Linked DNA regions of Homo sapiens: region 1 is linked to region 2. The links are contacts of gene promoters, found by promoter capture Hi-C in human tissues and cell types (Jung and others, 2019). All regions are on one chromosome and are shown on one strand. The core of a region is centred on a gene start or on the middle of the fragment in contact, and the rest is flanking DNA. Distances in the headings are between cores, read along the strand shown.

What was found. Contacts are between HindIII fragments. The study calls those that stand out against the background at their distance.
Region 1: a contact is called between a fragment that was not itself captured here and the fragment with the promoter of DDIT4L in region 2, in 1 of the 25 tissues and cell types used here (lymphoblastoid cells).

Annotation. Positions count from the first base shown.
Region 1 is chr4:102,179,091-102,186,703 of GRCh38, forward strand. No RefSeq gene overlaps it. Among named protein-coding and RNA genes, the nearest start is that of SLC39A8, 160 kb to the right of the region's middle. The HindIII fragment of the contact is 5,021 bases long and covers 1-5,000 here.
Region 2 is chr4:100,186,871-100,194,442 of GRCh38, forward strand. It overlaps DDIT4L (DNA damage inducible transcript 4 like), which reads right to left and starts at 3,598. Exons shown (of 3, transcript NM_145244.4): 1 at 3,433-3,598; 2 at 3,023-3,162; 3 at 1-1,297. The coding sequence starts at 3,113. The coding sequence ends at 807. It overlaps DDIT4L-AS1 (DDIT4L antisense RNA 1), which reads left to right and starts at 3,163. Exons shown (of 5, transcript NR_125924.1): 1 at 3,163-3,204; 2 at 6,096-6,179; 3 at 6,876-6,972; 4 at 7,053-7,129. The HindIII fragment of the contact is 5,141 bases long and covers 1,055-6,195 here.

The sequences.
Region 1 (7,613 bases), core at 1,240-3,739, 2.0 Mb after region 2:
ACCAGAGTGACCCTTCCAAAACTATGATCAAGCTCTTATCACTCTCTACTCAAGCCCCTCAATGGCTTTATCCCTCTCAGGGAAAAACTCTCATGCCTTACCATGGCCTATGAGGTTCTATGTCATCTGCATCACTGTGACCTCTCTGTCCTCATCTATCACCACTGTCCTCTCTCTCTCTCTCAGCCATATCATACTTGCCTCTTTTCTTTTCTTTTCGTTTTTAGAAGTGAAGTTTCACTACGTTGCCCAGGCTAGCCTCGAACTCCTGGACTCAAGCAATCCTCCTGCCTCAGCCTCCTGAGTAGCTTGGACTACAAGCATACAACATCACACCCAGCTCTGACCCCTTTTCTATCCACCAAGCATAATATTCACTTGCTTCTTCCTTTACCTAGAAACCTCTTTCACCAGAAATTACGATGTCTAACTCTCGCACTTCCTTCAGATATTTAATCAGTGGCTTAATTAATGAGGAATTCCAGGACCACTCTATTTAAAATGACTTCCTCTTCCTTTCTTCCACTTCCTTGGAGATAAGAGTTTTATAGAACTTATCACTATATGAATATGAATATAGATAAAATACATAGAGATCATTATGTCTATTTGTACATATATAGATGTACATACATATACAATGCACATCAATACATATACATAAAATTTTTTATATTTACTACCTATTTCTGCACTCTAGAATGTAAACTACGTGAATACATGATGTTTTGTATATTTTGCTCATTATTCTATTCCCGGCATCTACAACTGTGGCTGGCAAATATCTGGGGTTCAAAAATTATCAGTTGAATAAGTTAATATACACATTCATATTTTTAACAGATGTAAAGTCTTTAGCATTTAAAGACTGACTCTGCTTTATCTAGGCATTCCAACAAAGCCTCCTCCTGCACTTTGATCCCTCACACTTAGATTTAAAAAGAAAACATTTTTATATTATTTTCTACAGTTGGTGGTTTAATGAATGTCCTCTGTGCAGTTGGTTCATTTTAAAGCCACATTATTTCCCTGTCTAATCATTGGCAGTGGCAGGAAGTAGAATTAATCTAATCTTTCAGAAGGATTCCCCTGAAGCCTGAAGCACTATTGCATTAGACAGCAGAGGTTTTTCCTTACTAGGACAGATTTTCATGTCCTAGTGTATATTTAGACACTGAATCCCTTTAAAACTAATGGGAGGTCTGTGGGCCAAACACACTTACAGGAAATGAAAGGAAATGGCACAGTAAAAGCAAGCTGTGAAGAAAGATCTTCACGCTTGCTGTTACCTAATCTGTCACATGAAAGATTTATTTTAAAATTTCTATTAGATAAAATGAACAGAAAAATACCATGTACAGTATTCTTTCAGTATTCCTGCTCTTGTTTCCACAAGTGCCTCCTCTTCATGTGAGTCATGTATTGAGGTAAAGAAAAAAGAGTAGAATAGGATATTTTACTTATCTCAAATCAGAAATGTCATCCTATATTTGAAGAATAATTGCAAAACAACCAAAATGAAAAAAGCAATGCAATTTTGGAAAAGTTGAAGCTATAAATTGTCAGTAAATAACTAAGTTATTTCTATTTTCAATGAAAAATAACATTTGGTCAAATAGGCTGTAGTTTGGTTTATTTTGCTGTTGTTATTGCTATGCTTTGTTTTTTAAGAGACCTAAAGATTAGTTCTAATATTGGGTACTTTCTTAGCTTCAAAATATATTAATATTTAGTTGTGCATCTACTACTTTATATTGCTGCCATATTCACGCTTTTATTATTCTCTATTCTTTAACATATTCTTACCTATATAGGAGTTTACCAAAAGAAGTAAACTTCTTCACTTTTTTCTCCAGCCTTTCTGACTAATACTGTCTGTTGCAAACTTCCTTTGCTTTTCTAAGATAATATTCCAGGCATATCCCAAGCCTTTTTGGTCTCTTTCAGTGACAAGAACAATTTCATTTAAGTAATTGTAATTCACTCTCAGATGCTAAAAAAAAAAAAAAAAATCCAGACTAAATCAGAAGTTCAATCTAACTTCCATTCCAAATCTTCACTCCTCCGCAGAACTGAAACTTGATCTTTGGATGTGATAGCTGCAATAATGAAGTAGTCTTAGTCTGTTTCTCACCTTCCTTTCTCCATCTACATTACCTCTGCTACACGTTCTCCCAGGGTCAAGATAGCAAACAGGGGAGATTAGGAAAATAAGGATATCTTATATGACAGATATTTTATAATTTGCCATAGCACATGCCCAAAGGCAGATGCCCAAATGTTAGTTCTCTCATAGGGCACATTGTATACTCTTTGGTGGTTCCCCTTTGCCCTCTACTTGTCCTGCCATTGCAGGTTGTTCCAGCCAGCTTCATGGCTTGAGAATTCTCCATACTAGGGGCTGGGCAGGGTGGTTCACACCTGTAGCTCACACTAGCACTTTCAGAGGCAGAGGTGGATGGATCACTTGAGTCCAGGAGTTCAAGACCAGCCAGGCCAACATGGTGAATGAAGCCTCATCTCTACTAAAAATACAAAAATTAGCCTGGCATGGTGGCATGTACCTGTAATCCCAGCTACTCCAGGGGTTAAGAAACAAAAAAAACACTTGAACCCAGGAGACAGAGGTCGCAGTGAGCCGAGATTGCGCCACTGCACTCCAGCCTCGGTGGCAGAGCAAGACTCTATCTCAAAAAAAAAAAAAAAAAAAAAAAAAAAAAAAAAAAAAAAAAAATTCTCCATACTAGAAACAGGCAGGAAGCAGGCATCAGTTTCTTTGTTTATGTATGTCTCTGCTCTACTGGGTTTATCAAGGCCTCTGAAGAATTTTCCCACCAAACCCCATCTGGTGAGATTAGGCAAGAGTTAAACATTTCTGTAGCTACATAATCATCCAGTCAGAAAACAAGATTCCAGTCTCTTCTACTTTCCTGGCATCTCCAGATTTTAAAACTTAAATTCTTGGAGACTCATCAAATGACTTGAGATGAGTGCTGGCATCTCAGTCTCTATTCCCTTGGTTGGGGAGAATTTCCATGGTACTCCTAATTACAACAGAGACACACCTATTATAACTATTCTCTCTCCAATCACACTTTAAAGTGCCTGTTCTTATATAAAATAAAAGTTGGTAGCTGGATTAATAGTTTCTAGAGAGATTCTGCTATCTCTCAGTAATTTGGTCATGAATATGTTTACCATCTTTCTTTATAATATATGTGTACTTACCACCTACCATTCTCAGGTTTATGACTCAGTTCACATTCTAAGACATTAGAAAAAAGTTACAGTCTACATCCTATGTCACCTATCTTACCATTGCAGAATCTTTGTCATTCTGCACTATAGTCAAAAGCATTGTGTAGTAGACTGAAAAAGAGTCATCAAAGACATCCATAGCCTAATCTTCAGAAACCATGAATATGTTACCTTAAATGACAAAAGGGACTTTGCAAATGTGGATTGAGGACCCTGAGATGGGAAGCTTATCTTGCATTATCTGGTGAGTCTTAAATGTAATCACAAATGTCATTATAAGAGAGAGGCAGGGGTGAATATTAGATTTTAGAAGTAGGAGATGTGAAAACAGAAGCAAGAGATTAGAGGAGTTCAAGGAAGGGGCCCTGAGCCAAGAAATGCAGGAGCCCATCAGAACCTAGAAAATGCAAGAAAAGGCATCTCCCCTAGAGCCTCCAGAAGGAGCTAGCCTGGCCAACATCTTGACTTTAGCCCAGTGAAACTGATTTCAGACTTCTGGACTCCAGAACCATGAAAGAATAAATTTTTGTTCTTTTAACACACCAAGTTGTGATAAGTTGTTCTAGCAACCACAGCAAATGAATAAACATTATCTCATTTAGGATGCATTTAGCTGAAAATAATAAAAGTCCTGGACTCAAATCAACTGAAGCAATAAGAAAACGTCTCTTTTCACGTATCAAGAAGTGTGGAGTTAAGGCTGGTTTAGGTGTGGTACAATGAAGAGTCTAGTTTCTTTCCAATTCTCTGTGTTATGCCCACTCTGTGTGCAATTTTATTCCTGAGCTTGCTTGTGTAAGGCTCATCAGATGACTACCAGCAACAGTAGGACAATATATTATGTCATTCATTGAAAAAAAGAAAAACTATCATTTTAGTCATGGTCCTGCTTTTTAATCTCATTTGGCCAGATTAGGACCTTTACTCACTCCTGGACCAATCACAATCCAAGAATCCTATGCTCTAATTGACTTGAGCAAGTGTTGCTGAACCAATTTCAAACAAGGGTGAAATTAGCATAATTGTCATTGCCTAATCAGGACCCACTCCTGAAGCTGAGGAATACCTGGGCAAAATTGGCAATAGGGAGATGGCAAAGGATAAGGAGACCATATATCTAATTTATCATTCAACTGGAACACGACTAAGAATGAAAGAAGTCATTATATGAAAAAGATACTTGCTCACGCATGTTTATAGCAGCACAATTCACAATCGCAAAAAATGTAGAACCAACCAAAATGCCCATCGATCAAAAAGTGGATAAAGAAACTGTGGTATCAATACATACAATGGAATACTGCTCAGCCATAAAAAGGAATGAATTAATAGCATTTGCAGCAACTTAGATGGGATTAGAGACGATTATTCTAAGTTAAGTAACTCAGGAATGGAAAACCAAACATCGCATGTTCTCACTCATAAGTGGGAGCTAAGATATGAGGATGCAAAGGCATAAGAATGACACAGTGGACTTTGGGGACTCAGGGGGAAGAGTGGGAGGGGGTAAGGGATAAAAGACTACAAATTAGGTTCAGTGTATACTGTTGGGATGATGGGTGCACCACAGTCTCACAAATCACCACTAAAGAACTTACTCATGTAACCAAATACCACCTGTTCCCCAAAATCCTATGAAAATAAAAAAATTTTAAAAATAAAAATTAAAAAAAAGGTGCCCTATTAAGAATTCCACCAATATAATAGATATAAACAGGTACTGTCCCACTCACCTTGGGACTTATGCTCATCCTATTGGTAGGAGGCCAATAGTGTCACCCACAAGCATTTTGATTAGAGCTGACTAGAACACTAGTCACCAGTTCCTAAGAAGAAAGGATTGGCTGGGTGTCGTGGCTCACACCTGTAATATCAACACTCTGGGAGGTGGAGGTGGGCAGATCATGAGGTCAGGAGATCGAGACCATCCTGGCTAACACAGTGAAACCCTGTCTGTACTAAAAATACAAAAAATTAGCTGGGCATGGTGGCATGTGCCTGTAGTCCCAGCTATTTGGTAGGCTGAGGCAGGAGAATTGCTTGAACCCAGGAGGCGAGCTTGCAGTGAGCAGAGATCATGCCACTTCCTGCCACTGCACTCCAGCCTGGGCGACAGAGTGGGATTCCATCTCAAAAAAAAAAAAAAAAAAAAAAAGACTGCAAAAATGAGGAAACACTTAATCTGCAAGGGTAGAGGACTTGACAAAAGTCATCTAATTGGAAAGTGGAAAAACAAATACCTAAATAACCAAGCCTTTTTAACCTAATTTTACTTTTCTTTCCATATACCACTCATGTAATGTTAAGTCCAATACAGAGGTCAACCTCTAATTAGTTTGCTGGGGCTACAATAACCAAGTACCATAGATTGGGTGGCTTAAACAACGGAACTTTCTCTCACATTTCCAGAGGCTGGAAGTCTAAAATCAAGGTGTTCTCAGTGTTGGTTCTTTTTGAGGCCTGTGAGGGAGAATCTGCTCCAGGCCTCCCTCCTTGGCTTTAGACGGCCATCTTTTCTCCATATCTCTTCACATCGTCTTCCCTGCATGTGTCTCTGTCTACAAATTTCCCCTTTTTATGAAGACACCAGTCATATTGGATTAGGGCCTACCCTGATGACCTCACTTTAACTTGATTACCTCTGTAAAAACCCTTAATTCCAAATAAGTCCACATTATGAAATAGTGGGGCTTAGGATGTCAACATCTGATTTGGAAGAGGGGCTGGGGCACAATTAAATCCATTACACACCACCAAGGGAAATTCCTAATGAGGCAGCCAGACAGGGGAAAGGTCTGTTTATCAGGCCATATGAGGAACTGCTAAGGAAGCAGCAATGCTGTTTCTCAGGGAAAACTTGTGAGAGACAACTTTTGTCTAGTCTCAATTTCTTCAAAAGTCAAATTAGAATCAACTGATATAAATTACATGAAAATAAATTTTTATTCACTTCTATATCTATTTTCCTCTCTTACCAAGCACTTTCTGGCTATGCATTTGAGCCTTTCAGATGATTATTAAAAAAAGAAGGAGGAAGAAATTATTATGGGGTGCAAAAATACTCAATAAAGGAACCAAGCTCAACATTAAAGACAAAAAGTATCACTGTCAGGGCTTTTATATTCACTATAGTGAGGGTCTCCTCCCCACCAATGACTTCAGAGAGGTCCCTCAGGCCTTTCCCTGCTGTCACAGTGTCCTAGGTGAGCAATAGCCCCGCTCTGTCGTTTCCGTGAAGGTTCATGAAAAAAACTCCAAGCTTAGGATTTCAATTTGCATTATAAAACAATCTATAATTAAACTTTGAGTTTCATTTTCAAAAACTCAGCAACATAGCCACAAGAGATATGCATGCATATACACACAACAGACACACACACACACACACACACACACACACACACACCGTTTTCTAGCCCTAGTGAAGCTGTTAACTGCAGTAAGCCCTCAGAGGGCCAATTTTAGGTCAAAGGACCATAGCAGTTTGTGGGAAAGTGAGGGAGAATACCATTTATTTTCGTTCTAAGGACTCCATGATCAATTAGTGAAGTCCAAATGTGTCTGAAAATCAGACTATTCTGGTAACTATTTTGGCTTCTTTGTGCTTTACAGTAACAATAACTCGATTGCCTCTGCTGATTAAATGCCACACTTAGTCCCTGCCACCTAGAACCCCATTGTCTCATTGAACAAGGGAGTTCATTCTGATGGCAGCAGTTACTACTGTCATTTTTGGCCTATAGAGAATAGACCACGGAGCTCTTCCACGGTGATGCTGAGGGGTCCTTCATGAAAGGATTTCTCACAACCTTGGTAAAGTCAGTGTCCTCTGGACTGTCTGAACATAATTAGGGGATGGGTAAGTATGTCTTACATGATAAATTCACTCTAGCATTCCAATTTTTCTAAGCCTTTGAATACCTTTCTCTTCAGTATTCCACAAAAGTTCTGATATTTTAACTTCATTTAGTGTAGGGTGTCTTGGATTCAGGTTTCAGTGAACCAATTATAATTTTTAAAAAACTGTTAAGAGTCACTCTCAGCTGCTCACATTAACACATCGAATCCAAATCTGTGCTCAGTGCATCAACATGAATGAAATCAGTCCTGACATAATTCCTGAAAATCTATTTTGACATATATTCTCCAAATTTCCATCATCATTACAAATTGGCAAAATTTTGCAATTCTTTTCATGTGTGTTTAACTGCTTATGGTTCACATGCTATGCCTCACCCCTGGGATCTTTTGAAACTTAAATCTGGGTATAGTTCTAGAAGTATAACAGATGTCAAGGAGAGGTCTTGAGGAGGATCAGCAATCTCCCACAAGGCAACTACCCCAGGGAAGGCTGT
Region 2 (7,572 bases), core at 2,348-4,847:
ATTCATCATTCACTCAATGGAAGAGTAATCAACTACACACAAAAATATCAGTTCAATATTTTGCATTTTTCTAGTTTAAAGACAGTATTCAACACTTAAGAACAGGGGAAACTGAGCTTATAAAGGCATCTAAAACAACACCGTGGTTACTGAAATGGCACCACAAGCTTTTGTTGCCTCTTTAAAACATTAGAGTGAGGAAGTCACCAAGAAACAGTGAAGCAGTTCCATTATTGCCGTAATATTTCTCATTTACTCTTACCTAGGGTTAAGCTTTAATTAAACTCACCTACTTAATCCTACCCTCCTGTCTAAAAACCCTTCAAATTTGAGTCAGGAACTGGTGGTGTGGGCTTTTGGAAGTTTTGATAGGCTAAATATCATTTAGTATGATTCTGTGATTTAAAAAATCCTCTGAAAACTTACAGAAAAAAAAGCCATATGAAAATCAAAATAGGCAAATCTGGTTTATATAGTCTATTACCAAGCCTACCTGAAACCAAATTGTGGAATCAAATGTAAAACTCAAATGGGCTTCTACTTTTGCTTACCTATTCCATCCCATTCAATTCTGTACAAAAATGGGATCTATGCAGAAAATCTACACTATTTTGAATCACTTCTCCAAAGGCCAGAAAATCAGCCTGTTAGCTGCAGTTGCTATGAATGTGAAACACAGAAAGAAAAGAGACTACATTTGGGGTTTCTTATTTAGGGCAGGTGGGGCAAACTACAAATGACTTTAGCTGACTAGCTGAATAGTTTTACTACCCAATCATGAAATAATCTTTATATATTTTCCCTTTTTAGGACCCTTCAATCACTGTTGTTCCAATCAGTGAGTAAAGTTTTTTCTTAACAAGTCGAAATCCTGAGCTGAGGATCAGAGTTCTCCTGAAACCAGAGGAGAAGCGACCTCTACTAAAGAAAAAGTCCCTGAAGCTAGTCCATGAGCAGTTCTCCTGCTTAAACACAAGTGTAAGCTCAAAAGTAGGTACGACGCTAGAATCACACACAATCCTATCCAGCTTTTTACATACATTTTCAATTTCCAAGTTCACGTGCATAACACAACCTCGCAAGCCGCAGGGCTCCGTTGAGGAAAGCCGCAGGACATCTTGAGCAATTCTCTGGGTCAGTTTCTCAGGGACAAGGACCTTTGAGCAACCAAGTTTAGTTTGCTTTGATTTGGACAGACAGTTCTCCAGCATTTTAACCAAATTCTGGCAAGTTGATTCCTCAAATATTACCTCGTTGAGGTTGGGTTCAGGAACAACATAATCCCAGTAGTCAAAATCTGTAAGAAATGGAGTTTTCTTTTTAGATACAGAAGAAAAAATTTAAGAGTAGAAAAAAAACACCAAGATATCAACATTGGTTACCTCTATCTACCATGTCTGCCTTTTTCTTGTATTTGTTTCAGAGTCAGCTGACCTCAATTAACTGTTAACTAGCTAGGTAATATAGCGAATAATTTAAGCTCTCATGAATGAAAGTTCATGTATGAAATAAAGGTTTAGATAAATAGAGTAGATAGGATGTAACCACTTTTCTTTAAATTTATGTGTGTACACAAAACACACACACAACCGTGAAGACTATGCATCAAAAATCTACTTGTGATTATCCCAGATTATTGGTGATTTTCTTTTCTTTTCTCCTACTTGCTTATGGGGGTTTTCTAATTTTGTTTTACAGAAAACATGCATTACTTCTGGAATAAAAAGTTATAACTTTGTTTTTTGGACTAAGGGGTTGTTACTTTCTAACTGTAGGAATACATGTATTGTAAAATAAAGAATTTTTACTATTATGTTTGAAGAGTTGTATTAAAGCTTTAAGAGTTATATTAAAGATCTATCAAATTTGTGTCTTTAAGTCTTTACTGGAGTGGCCTGTAGGTCCCAATTTTAGCTTTAGCCTCTTTAATTAAAAATTGTGCAGAGAAGACCTTTGAGGTTCATGAGGATATTTGTAACCGGCTGGGTGGTTTTTCTTAGCCAAGCAAAACAAAATAGTCCTAGGGAAATAAAATTAGCTGGGCTCAAAGGAAAAGAGATAGCTCTGCATTTGGTCACCTACACCTCAAATTAATCCTACCCCTTGGCAGGATGCCACACCACACGGAGTCAAATGAACAAGGTGCAGGCAGATGCCCTCCCAGCTCCTCTCTCTAAGCCTACTCCACCTTCATCAGCCACTGGCTTTTCCTCTCCACTTCGTGTAAGTTTGGAGTTCTGGCCTGTAAATTAGGTCATCAACCACTTCACCTTGAAAGGAGAAAAACACGAAGAGCTTAAGCAGTTTATCTATGCTCTTACAGCTCTTTAGTGTCAGAGCAGTGTGTTCACCTAGAAACTGCTGTTAAAATTCCAAATGACAGCAAGTCAAGCACCGCTGCTGTTCAACAGTTTCCTTCTCACATTAAAAATGGAATAATGGATATATCCACGACTGAAAATCCTACTCAGTAATAAACAATAAACACGAACACACTGATTTAAGCAACGGACATAAAAGAATCTCAAAAACATTAGGCTGCGGGAAAGAAACCAGACACAAAAGAATACCTACTGTATGGTTCCACTTACCTAAAGGCAAAACTAACTTGGAATGATAAAAATCAGATCAGTAGTTCCCTGGAGTCAGGGGAGAGTGAGGAATACCTGGCAAATAGGTGCGTCGGAATTCAGGGGGAGGGGCGATATTGATTACAGGGTAAATACATTTGCTAAAACACACATAACTGTGTTCTTCACAATCATGTAAGATAAGGAACTTAATCCCAAGGGGCCTACTGGCACCAGACTAGAAAGATGCAGCCCTCGGGTATTCTACTTTTGCTACTTTTGTTTCTATCATGGAGAGAAGATGTTAGAAAATTTGGAAAGGAGTCTCCTCAGATGGATTTTGTGGCACCTCCTACATAGAGGTAGGGGAGGAAGTCGAAAGCCCGCCCACCCAATAGATCCAGAGGCACCGACCTTGGGAGGGGAGAAGGGTGGACAGCGGGGACACTCACCACTTAGCAGGCTCTCTGGGTGATAGCCACAGTCCAGCAATTCTGAAATGCTGGCCGGGTTCTTGCTGCTCAAACTGCCAGTTGCAACCATGGTCAACGGCTCTGTTTCCTTCGCGAGGCGCAACGGCCTTTCCTGAGCGCTGGAAAAAATGAGGCGAGAAGAGACGGATTTGCAAAAGCAGGCGAGTCGTGCAGAGGCTCCTAAAATGCCCGGCGTCCCGGGAGCGAACTAGCGGAGGAACTCCTTTGCCAAAGGGGTGGAACCGGCCTCTGCAACTCAATTTGACAAAGCCCTGGGAGCGGAGCCGCAACCTGAAACTAACTCAACAGTTCGCAAAACTTGGAAGCGACCTGCCCCGCGGAGCGCCCCCCGGCCCCGCTGCCCCCACCAAGGCCGCAGCTTCGCTCACCTGCCAGGAGTTCGCGGGGGCCTGCGCGCTCGCTGCCGGGTAAACACAGGCAGGTGGCTTCTTAGGAGTCCCCTCTCCTGGGGACTCGGTGACCTGCAGACCCCAGCAGCCAGCGGCACCCTGCTCACCCCTCCCGGGCCACCCTGCGCCGGCTCCTCGCAGTAGCATAGCCTCCGGGGCAGCGAGAACTTTATAGGTCCAGTCCCCACCCTGCTCAGGCCCGCCCACCTGCACCGCCCCTCCCCGGCCAGCGCCCCGCCCCTCCCCTCCAGAGTCTGGTCCCCTTTCAACCTCTACACTTCCAGGGAGCCCGAGCCTAGCCACAGGGAGTTGAGGATAAGCCTGTGGTAGAGCGGACACCTGTTGCTTCCAGGGTAGATCTCGGGCCACTGGGACCGCAATTCCGGGTGCACGACTCGTCAAAGCCTGAACCTGATTGTTCAGTGCGACCCCTCCCCGAGCGTCCGCGCTTTCACACTCAGGCTGCTCCCGGCAGCGGGAAGCTTTAAGCGATCTGTGCATTTCCTTGTCCTGGGGCTTTGCTGTGTCATCCTGAACACTTGGCTTAAATCTGTTGCAACGTCCACTGAGCATCATTTATGCACTTATTTCTGGCCTCTAACCCAGTCAACTCTACTCTGCCTCCCAGGGTTTCTGTATCCTCCTCTGCTGCAAGCGGTCAGATCTAGTTTTCCTTTCCCGCATCGAAGGCTCGCCAGCATTTTAAGAAGGGCCTTAATGACCCCACGCACTCCGTGGCTCCCTGGCATTCTTCGTGCACTTACATCTGTGGCTAATGCGTTTTCTTCGCAGGAAGGGTGAGCCTGGCACTCTTCTAATTAGACCTTGCCCCAGAGCGCGGGGAGCTTGAATTGAGCGGGAGTTTGCCAAGAAACACACAATACCATTAGTAGGATCTTAGGTACTCCTCTATCCGTGCATCGAGAGCAACTGTCATTTCCGGAGGCAGAAGTTTCTGGCGAGCCCTGTTGGGAGGATCTTTGGTTTGGGATATTTTGAAGAGGTTTCAGAGACTGAAGATAAAGAGTTTTATATTCTGCTGGGGATCAGCAGATAATCCCTGTGAGGGCTCCGTGCGGTCCTGCACAGGAACACACAGAGAGGCAGAGGAGCCCTGGAAAGAGGCAACATGCCCGCATAGCCCATGAGCAAGAAGCCAAACCTGATTTTTTTCTTCCAAAGTTATTAAGCCACGGTTTTCTCGCTTTGGTGTGCCAGTAGGAGATGATCTGTTCAGAGAGTCAGCTTGGGGTGCGTTAGGGGATGCCTGGAGGGAGAAGGTTGTTCCTACAGTAGAGATCCCAGTGTTGGCTCCCAGGCCCTCTAGGATTATGTGTAGAAGGATTTGCAGGTTAGAACCTTGAAAGGCAGTTTCAGCTGTCCTGGCATAAAACTCTTAGAAAAACAACAACAGAAGGGGTATAGAGGGTGTGATAAACAGATCAGTGGGAGGACATTCGGACGCAGAGCAGCAGAAATTAAAGCCAGCTTGACAGTCCATTTTTAACTCAGTTCAGGCAGCTGCACTGCCTGAAGGTCAGGCGAGCCAAGGAAGGAGATGCTGATAGACTGGTCTTTGAAGGCCAGTTTCCACTTCTACTTCAATAAACAGAAAAGTGGAAAATAAACAAGCCCATTTAAGCCAATTAAAAAGCGGTTTCAGTGGCTAGGGTGTTCAGGACCAATGGATGGGCCCATGGTCAGGAGTTGGATGCCAGCCGCCTGACAGTCAGTCCCTGGGCAGGCCACAGAGCCTCTTGTCCTTGTCTGGGCAGCATTACTAATGAGGCTGCCACTTAACCTGCCTCCAAGGAGGATTTTTAGAATTAATATAATGAGTGGTCTGAACCAATACTAGCGAAATAAAGAAATTACTCGTTTCAATTTCCTTAGGGTATTTAGGCATAATTCATAGAGTAAATGCCCCCATAGGGCCAGAAAGATTATTGGAACTTACAGAAAGTAGTAGTTGCTCTTGGCCCACCTGACTAAATGAAATTTTGCAAAGCCCTTTGGGATTTGACTTCAGAAAACAATTTACTTATGTACAAAAGACTTCAAATAATATCTTCTTGGCTGAATGGGCCTTGCTCTCAGGACATACAGGGCATAAGGAATGATTGAGGTAAAACACATACCTGGAATAATTAAGAATGTCCTTTTTTATCTACTTAAAAGCGTAGAAAATCCATTCTATCACCAGTTTGCATCTTCACAAGGTTAAACAGAACTGATTTTTTAAAAATTTGAAGCATAGAGAAGAATTAGGAAAAACTAAGTGCCATTATAGGCTAAGTGCAAGGTGACACAGTCTATCAGATTTCAGAAAAATGTGGATACAGTCAATTATTTATAACTGAAAGTTCGCATTGGGGAACTTCAGGTGTTTATTAAGTGCAGTGATAAAGAAGTTTGTTTTATTGCTCTTTCATTATATCCTCTAACTAATACTATATAAACAGTTTGTGGGAGTGCTTACTGGAAATAGTTGTGTATGAATAGAAAATCTAGTCAGTTAAATAATTTGATTTCCTTTCATACACCAATGTATTATAAGAAACTATCTAAATCATAGGCAAAGGCTTTAACTTAAGCATGCTTGCTTTTTTATTACTATAATTCACTAATCCATCTTCTTACAGAAAGAAAATGAGATAGCAGTAACAACTGGCAACCATATGTTCATCTGATGTATTTGCAAATATTTAAGTTCTAGGCTTCCTCAGGTATAAATATAGTATTCATAATGTCATTGCTTATGTAAAGTATAAATTCACAATGCCAGGGATACTGAAAAAACAAAAAGCAAAAATGATGCTTTCATGTATTATTACAGGAAATGTTGGTGTCTTTTGCATTTGTGATTTGGAGTGTTGAATGTTCATTACGTGTTTCACTAGCCAATTTTCTGTCTTTATTTGGTATGAACACTTATTTTTGAATCTTATTAATACATTTACGTTCCACACATAGCTTATTTTATTTCATAAACTATGACACCTGAGGGAAAGTTACTGAGTTTCTTAATCTGTGCAATTCAGGGAAAACTTACAGGACATGGAAATTGATCTATACATTAGCAGTAAGCTCATGGGGTTATTGTAAGGATTAAAAGAGAAACCCTTAAAATCAATGCTAAATATTATCTCTTTTTTATAAACAAATATGAGATCTTTAAATGCACACTGCCTCTAGATTCCCTTAGTTGTGCTAAGTTTGTAAATTTGGTGTCTCATGCAAAGTGCTTAGAACCAAACTAATACTGATATTAGGCAAGAACTTAATGAGTGATATTATTATTATTGCTGTTATTATGTTCTGAAATTGTAGTTATCTGGGTCAGTGCAACAAGCAAGTGGCTAAATGGAGTTGGGGAAGTGTTGTTAAAGTATAAGAAAATTTATGATCTTTCCTGTTTGCAGGAAATCTGGAAAGTATTGGCACTGATTAGGAAAGCCTTTTTTATTATAATACATCCATCACTGTATGGGAAAGCAGGAAAGGATCTGCCAATGAAACGTAAGAAAATAATGTGGGTAAAAAATTATCTTGGTGTAAAATACAGAGTTTTATATGTTAACTTTCCTCTATTAATCTAGGAAATAGTTTTCTGGAAATAAATAACATCTACAGACAATTGAAACTATTGACTATAGAATGACGCAGTTGTTTCAAGGTATGTGTGATCATCTGTTAACATACTCGGTGAGATATTTAATCATAATTTTTATTTGCCTTTGAGGGTGCATCACCCAATACAATTTCCATTTAATTATTAAATATTCAATATGACTTATTCTGTTAAGTAAGGTAACATGGAAACTTATCTCGTATAAGACAAAAAGCAGGCCCAATACATAAAATAATACATAATGCTTGCTATTAAAAGCTGAGAGAATCTTCCAATAACACAAGGGTTTGCCTCTCTTTTTAAGCAGAGAAATGGTTACCATAGCAACTTGTCTCTTAATATAGTTATATGATTTTGTTCTCTTCATAAACAATGCTGTGTATTATCAGTCTTTAAATAGAGATAATATGTTTAAATGCATACAATATCTGCTTTTCCTTAATTATGGAAAAATGTATAATTCAGGTGACCATATCAGAGGATGTCAG